2 separate regions of the Homo sapiens genome follow, and region 2 is linked to region 1. The links are contacts of gene promoters, found by promoter capture Hi-C in human tissues and cell types (Jung and others, 2019). All regions are on one chromosome and are shown on one strand. The core of a region is centred on a gene start or on the middle of the fragment in contact, and the rest is flanking DNA. Distances in the headings are between cores, read along the strand shown.

What was found. Contacts are between HindIII fragments. The study calls those that stand out against the background at their distance.
Region 2: a contact is called between a fragment that was not itself captured here and the fragment with the promoter of MYO1B in region 1, in 1 of the 25 tissues and cell types used here (liver).

Annotation. Positions count from the first base shown.
Region 1 is chr2:191,243,106-191,247,060 of GRCh38, reverse strand. MYO1B (myosin IB) reads right to left here and starts at 1,657. Exons shown (of 31, transcript NM_001130158.3): 1 at 1,435-1,657. MYO1B-AS1 (MYO1B antisense RNA 1) reads left to right here and starts at 886. Exons shown (of 4, transcript NR_186085.1): 1 at 886-1,142; 2 at 2,988-3,441. RefSeq lists a silencer at 1,347-1,736 and an enhancer at 1,149-1,771. The HindIII fragment of the contact is 14,933 bases long and covers 1-3,955 here.
Region 2 is chr2:191,287,306-191,290,870 of GRCh38, reverse strand. All of the region lies in intron 2 of MYO1B (myosin IB), which reads right to left. Among named protein-coding and RNA genes, the nearest start is that of MYO1B-AS1, 43 kb to the right of the region's middle. The HindIII fragment of the contact is 7,493 bases long and covers 1-3,565 here.

The DNA.
Region 1 (3,955 bases), core at 408-2,907:
ACATCATTCAATCCCCCATAGCTCCCTCCCTAGGTCAGCCAATCCTTTGGCGAGTCTCGATTCCAATCTAGGAAAGGTCACTTAACAAATGTCTGACACATTACATTTAATTCTACCACCTCTAAACGATCCTCACACAGAGAGTGAAAGCACAGAACACTTCAATGCCAGGGCTCCTCAGTTCAAACCCCAAACGCTGGTGTGTGTGGTGTGTTTCCTGGGACAGACTGTAAAAGGGTTTTTCAATTGTGTTACATAGTCTGATTCATTTATTTATAGCAATGTCTAATTTTCTGGTGGTTTCTGCCCTCAAACAGTCCTGGAAAACTGTTGTACTATATTATACTATAAAACAATTTTACGTCAAAATTGATTCTATAAAATTTGTCTCCTACCCATTCCAGCCAATATCCACTAGCTACACACACAGACCCAGAGGCACACACATACACACCAATACCATAGTTCATAGCAAAATTTTTTCAAATCTCAAAAAAAAAGGGGGGGGGGCTTCTTTCACTGTAACTAAGAAGATTTGCTTTGAGCAATCTAACATTGGGAACGCCTAGAAACTCAAGAAGCACACAACTTGTTGCAGCAATAAACGCTGGGCCGAAGCCTGAACAAAGCACTACAAATAAGCTCTAGAAACTCACATGGCCCTTGAACAAAATGTTGTGTGTTTGTAGTTACCTCTCCAGCGCGCTCTCATCACCCTCTCCCAACCCTCTCCCCAACTCTCTTCCCGGCCCCACCACCCTTCGTAGCTCCCGTCTCTAATCTGGTTTCCATTCCAGCCCCGCCCCCTTCCCCTTCCCTCTCTGGGACCGTGAATCAATCCCATCCCGGGCAGGAAACGAGACCCAGGGCAACCCCCTCCGCTGCGGCGGAACAAAGGAGGCGAGCGCAGCTGCACGCGCAGGGAGGCCCACAGCGTCCCGGGCCCCTCCTCCCCCGCCGCCGCCGGGGCACACCGCACCTGAACCCCACTCCCCAGGACGCCCCATTGTTCTCCCTCCGCTTTCCTGCCCGGAGGAAGCCACACCGTGTCTTTCCAGGGGGCCAGGAAACAGCTGTGGGCCAGAGGAATGGAGGGGCTGTGGGTGAACACGAGGACAGCCGAGATTCGACTCTGCCCACAGGTACGAGAGGCATGGGGCAAAGTAAGAGCAACTTAGTTTACAAGCCCTTCTTCCCTCCCGCCACCCCCGAAGCCACTGCGGAGTCACGACCACCCTCCGCAACCTACAGCGTGCGCCGTTCCCGCCGCAGCGCCGCGTCTCCCAAGAGAGCGGCAGAGCCCGCTGACCCCCGCCCGCAGGGTGCGACGGGGCCAGGGACCGCGGGCACAAAGGCGCGGAGCAGGCGCCTCGGGGGCCGACGACGGACGCAGAGGGAAGGGCAGGGGAGAGAGAGAGAAAGCGCTCGCGCTACCTCGCCTGGCGCTACCTCGCCGGGCGCCACTCCGCCTCCACGTCGTCCTCGCTCTCCGGTGGCGCTCCGGGACGCGGGCCCAGCCCGGGGCTGCGGGGCTCCCGCCGCGGCTGTTCTGCCAAGGCTGTCCCGCGGCTGCCGGCCGACTGCGCGCCGCGCGCTCTGGTACTGCCTCCACGCGCCGCGGTTGAGGCTCCCGTGCGCACCCAGCTGCGGAGTGCTCAGCGGCGGCGGGAGGAGCCCGGCCACTCCCCTCTCGCCCGCTGGCGGAGGGGCCGGCCGAGGGGCGGGGGCGGCGACCTCGCTGCCTGGGATTCGCCCCTCGGCGCGCGGGCAGGAACGGGAGCCACCGCCTCCGAGCCGACTCACCTCTGTCCGCCCGGTGCCGGCTTCACAGCGCCCCCCGGTGAGCGTCGCGGCGGCCTCCGCGCCTTGCGGGTTTGCGGCCCGACCCTCCGCACCCGGGGCGAGCCTGGATGGGACGAGGCTTGAGGGAAGGAGGGGCGATCGTCGCGGCCCCCACGGAAGGCAGTCTTTCTACCTTTTTTGCTTCCAGACTCACTGACATAAAATGAGAAATACAACATTTGACAACTCGAAGCCAGCCTGGGGTCACATTCCGGCAAACAGTGGGAGTAAGTCTCAATTTTTCCTCCTCCCCAAGATGAAAATTTTTGGATGCCGAGAATATCAGAAAATATTAGTTTCACAGAAAAAGAAAAAAATTATACTGAGTGGTGTGGTGTGTCTTCATTTACAAGACTTTTAGTATCTTTTAAATTACTTAATCTCACATTGTGGGAAATAGACACTGGCCAATTCTTTGTGTTATAAATACATGAGAGGTAGTTTAAAAGAAATTTCAAATACCCATACGTATTTGAATAGAGTGTATTAACAGGTCCTGAGTAATGATCAGTGATGGGGTATATTATACAGGCATGTAGGGGCCAGAGAATCAGGACACCCCCCCTACACACACACACACACCTTCTCACTCAAGCCCTATTGCCTCATTGGAGAATTTAGAACAATCCTCTTGACCCAGGTCCTGGTTTCTTCATCCTCGCACAGGGAAGGGTGCGCATTCAAACTTACTCACTGGGTGAGATGAGGATTACTTGGCTGAGGTGTTAAAAGCACTGTAGACACAGTAATTATTACTCATGGTTCTAACTACTTTATCCTATAATGAAATAAATTGCCATAAATGGGCCAGGTTTAAATGGACTGACCTGTATCTGGAAACTGTCACTAAAGTGAGGTGAACCAAAGAATTCAGACCATATATAGTAACTGTTCCCACTGGCATAAGAACCACAGGCGCTGGGATTTGTTAAATGCCACTAGTAGAGTTTGGAAAGGTGGGACCTTCACAGACTATATCTGCTGGGAACTGTCTCATCATTGATGTCACCATCAGCATCACTTCAGATGTACAAGTGGTGTGATAATGGGCGAAACTAACACATACTGGGTACCAGGGACTGTTCTTTGTTTAATCCTCACAAAAAGCTCTGAGGTAAGTTTCTCTCATTATCCTTGTTTTACAGACCAGCAAAGCCAAGGACAGAGAGGTCTTCAGGGAATACATGGCTATGGTGGTTTGAAGACTCCCATTAGAGAGTGGATATTAATTGCCCTCCTTTTGAATATGGTCTGGACTTAGTGATTTGATTGTAACAAATAGAATACAGCAGATGTGATGCTATGTGACTTCCAAACCTAGGTCATAAAAGGAGATGAAGTTTTCACCTGGCTCTCCCTTGGGACACTCACCCTTGGAACCCAGCTGCCATATTGTGAGGAAGCTCAAGCCACAGGGAAGGCCATGTGTAGGTGTTTGGGCTGATGGTGCCAGCTGAGGACCTGGTCTACTGCCAGTACAACTTATATCAAGCATGTGAGTTGGCGAGCTTTTGAAAGAACTCCAGCCACAGTCACTGACCACGCTGCCTGAGAGACCTAGAGAGAAAACCTAGCTGAGCCAAATCAGGCCCCGGAAACGTAAGTGATAATAATAAAAGATTGTCATCTGGGTGGTTGTTACATAGCAATAGACACCTAGAACAGTGACAGAGCTGGAATTTGAACCCAGATAGTCTGACTCTATAGTCTTCACTATCAAGCACACTACCTCAGACCTTGATAACCTAGCATAATGAAAACCCTGGAGATCCCAGCCTTCACAATAGGCAACATATGAACCTGCTACCTGGTGACGTGTGTTAGACTCACTTCTCCATTTTGCTTGTCTGAGTTTAGGTTCCCAAGTGACTGCTTATAGCAGTTTGGCAGTTCATGGAACTTCTGACCTCTACTGTCCAGTTCAGCTTTTCAAAAATAGCAGAAATGCAGATGGCAGGTTCATGAATATAAGATGTATACAAATTGAAGAGTGGGGGAATTCTATAAACTTTTGATCTTGGAAGGTGGCCAGATTTTAGAAAAAGTAGGTTTGAGACAACTATGTGCTGAGTAGGTCTATCAAAATAGCTAGCTACTAGAAGTAAAGTTTTGA
Region 2 (3,565 bases), core at 706-3,205, 44 kb before region 1:
CTTCCCCTTTAAATACTCCTATGGAACTAGTTCTGAAACAAAAGAAAAGTCCTTCTAGCCTCACTCTCATTTTAGCCACATTTCTAATAAACTTGGCATAGTCTCAATAGACTACAGAAAAACTGCAGCAACATCTGTATATTGGAAGAGGCAAAAAGGGCCGTACTATAGCTGTGAATTTGAAATGTTTGATTACAACTCATATATAAGAAATAAAATTTTCATCACAACCAGGTATGTGTATGTATGTCTATTTATGTGCACACACATATACAAGATAAAAACTTCACAAAACCAAAAGTACCCTTTACTATATGTGATACATTGATATTTTTTGTTCGATTCTAATATTTTTTACAAAATGTTTAAAAACTGTTGGCCCTAACCCACTAAATGATTTTCATGAGCAATTAATGATATGAAACTTGCAGTTTAAAAAATTGTGCTACACAGCACTCCTTAACCTTTCTTCAATTGTTGATCCCTTTGAGACACCAGCGGAAGCAATGACTCTTCTCCTTGGAAAAACACACATGCACATTGAAGTCTGCATACATGTGATATACCAGGTTAAGACTCCCTCTGCAAGCAGAGAAACAATGGCCACTAATAGAAAAGGAAGAGTAGGGAGGGACAAAGAAAGAAAGAAAATAAGTAAGAAGTGATGAAGATAATTATCAAAGTATAAAAATATTTATAGTAAGACCCAAGAGCCCCATGGCTTAGCCGGCCCTGACTGCTTTATTATGGCACTAATTGGGAACGTAGGGTAATAATCAACAGCCAAAATCAGTGTATTCTGTTTTTGATGACAAGGATATATGCAATACATTTTAGAATGATATCTAACCAAAAAGTTAAATATTTTAGCACAGCTTTAATATTATGTAAGTCTCAATAATGTGTAACATTCCTTCGCAAAGGCAGATAAATGAAACATTAGCACACATACACAGAACAGTCAGAATATTTCCAAGTCTGTATATAAAACTTCTTCTAAAAAGTCAGAATAGTTTTAATATCTTTTATATCATAATTCTTCCCAGGGTAAGATAGAGATCTTTAGAAGCCCTAAATCCTGAAGGTTTACATTTCAGTTTCTCATATGATATTAAAATGTATAACTACACCATAAAATACATGTAAGAAAATCCCATAATGACCTATTTTTGCCATCATGTACTTTGATGCTTTTTTTGAAATATCGAATTCTCTCAAAATCTATTTTTAAAGCCTCTGTTTGCTGGGCTCTAACTAGGCATCCAATCTGTCTACCTACCTGCTTCCTTATTTTCTTCAGGATGAATTTCAGTTATTTGTTTACATGTCTCTGGAGTTCCTTAAAAACTCATCCTCAACCTATTGAACAGCTGGCATAGAATATACACATACACACCTTTCTACTAAACTACTCCCAAATCCCCAAGAGATAGATACAAATTCTCTATCTTAATGTCCATAACAAAGGAGCACAAAGAAGTTAAGTGATACGACCACATTAGCTAGCAGAAGTGAAATCAAGACAAGGAGACAAGAATCTGTTCTCTTTTCATTAGAGCATACAATCCATGCCGTCTGTTAGGCCTGGGAAGCTTTGGTAAAAAGCACGCAAGAAGAACGGAGGAAACTTGTGTTGCACAATGCCATATAAAGCATCTTCAACCTTTGTGTAATAAAGCGCTACTCTGTTAGGCAAAAGCCTCCCATTTTACCACCTGAGAAATCCTTCTACCGCCAGGAATAAACAAAACAGAAAAGGAAAAGATCTTCTAGTTATAGGGAAAATGTTTGCTCTCACCAGAAAAGATTCAATCGTAATCATTCTTTAACTTCAGAGAAATAAATCAGGAATGTGGTGATGTAAAAGGCAATATTTATTTAAATATCTTAATACGAATTAGTCTAAAATAACATCAAAGAAATATCAGAGAAGGTATAGGAGTCGTCTGCATCTCCAAGGGTCTCCAAGTCATGTTACTTTTGCCTCTAAAGTATTGGGCTGGTGCAAAAGTAATTGCAGTTTTTGCCATTACTTCCAACGCAAAAATCACAATTGCTTTTGCACCAATCTATAGTTCAAATCCAGGATGGGCCAGGATTCAGGTAAGAATAACCCATCACAAGGCTGCACAATCGCACTGACTGATAGAGTGATTTTAGGCTACAAACCATTTTACATGCAAGCAACAAATTTATTAAGGGCTAACTTTATGCAAAACATCATGCTGGGCATGGTAGGAAAAATACAAAGCTCCCAGTGTCTGTGTGCCTGGGAAGTTTATAATATAGCTTAGGAAGTGAGTCTTTTAGATAGAGAAACATAAAATTTAAGAGTTAACTTCTCTAGACATTAAAACAGATGAAACAGGATGTGATTCCTGGCTAAATGAGCCATTAGTCTGATTATTTTACTGTCTAATGAGTGCTCCAGGGTTATATAAAGAAAGGTCACTATGAACTGCAGAGGTCCGAGAAAGCTCCAGAGAAGACAGACAGCTTGAGCGGTCTAAAAAGATGGGCATGATTTGGACAAAGTTCCCCCCAAAGAGTGACATAAGACGTTAGGTTTCAGGTGATAGCTGAATGCCGCCCAGCCACCACCTTTCTTTCTTCTTTTTTTTTTTTTTAAGCTAAGCTATCTTCTTCAAAATATATTTTTTTAAGTACAATTTGCCAGGGACTCAAACAGATATCTGCACACCCATGTTTATAGCAGCATTATTCACTATACCCAAGAGGAGGAAGTCACCCAAGTGTCCAGCGACAGATGAATAGATAAATAAAATGTAGATACGTACAATGGAACACTGTTCAGCCTTAAAAAGGAAGGGAATTCTGACACATGCTAGAATACAGATTAAAACACAGACAGAGGCACAAAGGCCTACCCAAGCACATACCAAAGACAGAGAATGGAACAGCTTCCCTAAAACAAAGACATCCCCTGAGTAGTTACGACTGGAATAAAAAATTCTTGCTAAAGCCAGGAAAAAAAAAAAAAAAAGACTGAGATCAAACTGTAGAGAGCCTTTGAACTTCACGTAAGCAGTCTGAGCTTGAGTCCAAAAGCAGTTTTGAAGTGAAAAGTCAGTGGGGGATGAGGGGCTTAGATGATGAAACTGATGGGATTTGAACCCACATCATTCTGACCTAAGTATAGTATTTAAGCTCTTTACTCAGATTCTACCTATGTCATTTCATAATAATAATTCTTCAATGTATTTGAAATATTGTGTAAGTCTTGGCTCCAAATTAGCTGGCAAAATTCTCTAGTTTTGTGTGAACGTGGGCACATTATTTAACTTTTCCACATCCCAGTTTCCTCACCTTTTTTTTTTTTGAGACGGAGTTTCACTCTTGTTGCCCAGGCTGGAGTACAATGGCGCGATCTTGGCTCACTGCAACCTCCACCTCCCTGGTTCAAGCAATTCTCCTGCCTCAGCCTCCCGAGTAGCTGGGATTACAGGTGCCCGCCACCACGCCAAGCTAATTTTTTTGTATTTTTAGTAGAGAGGTGGATTCACCATGTTGGCCAGGCTAGTCTTGAATTCCTGACCTCGGGTGA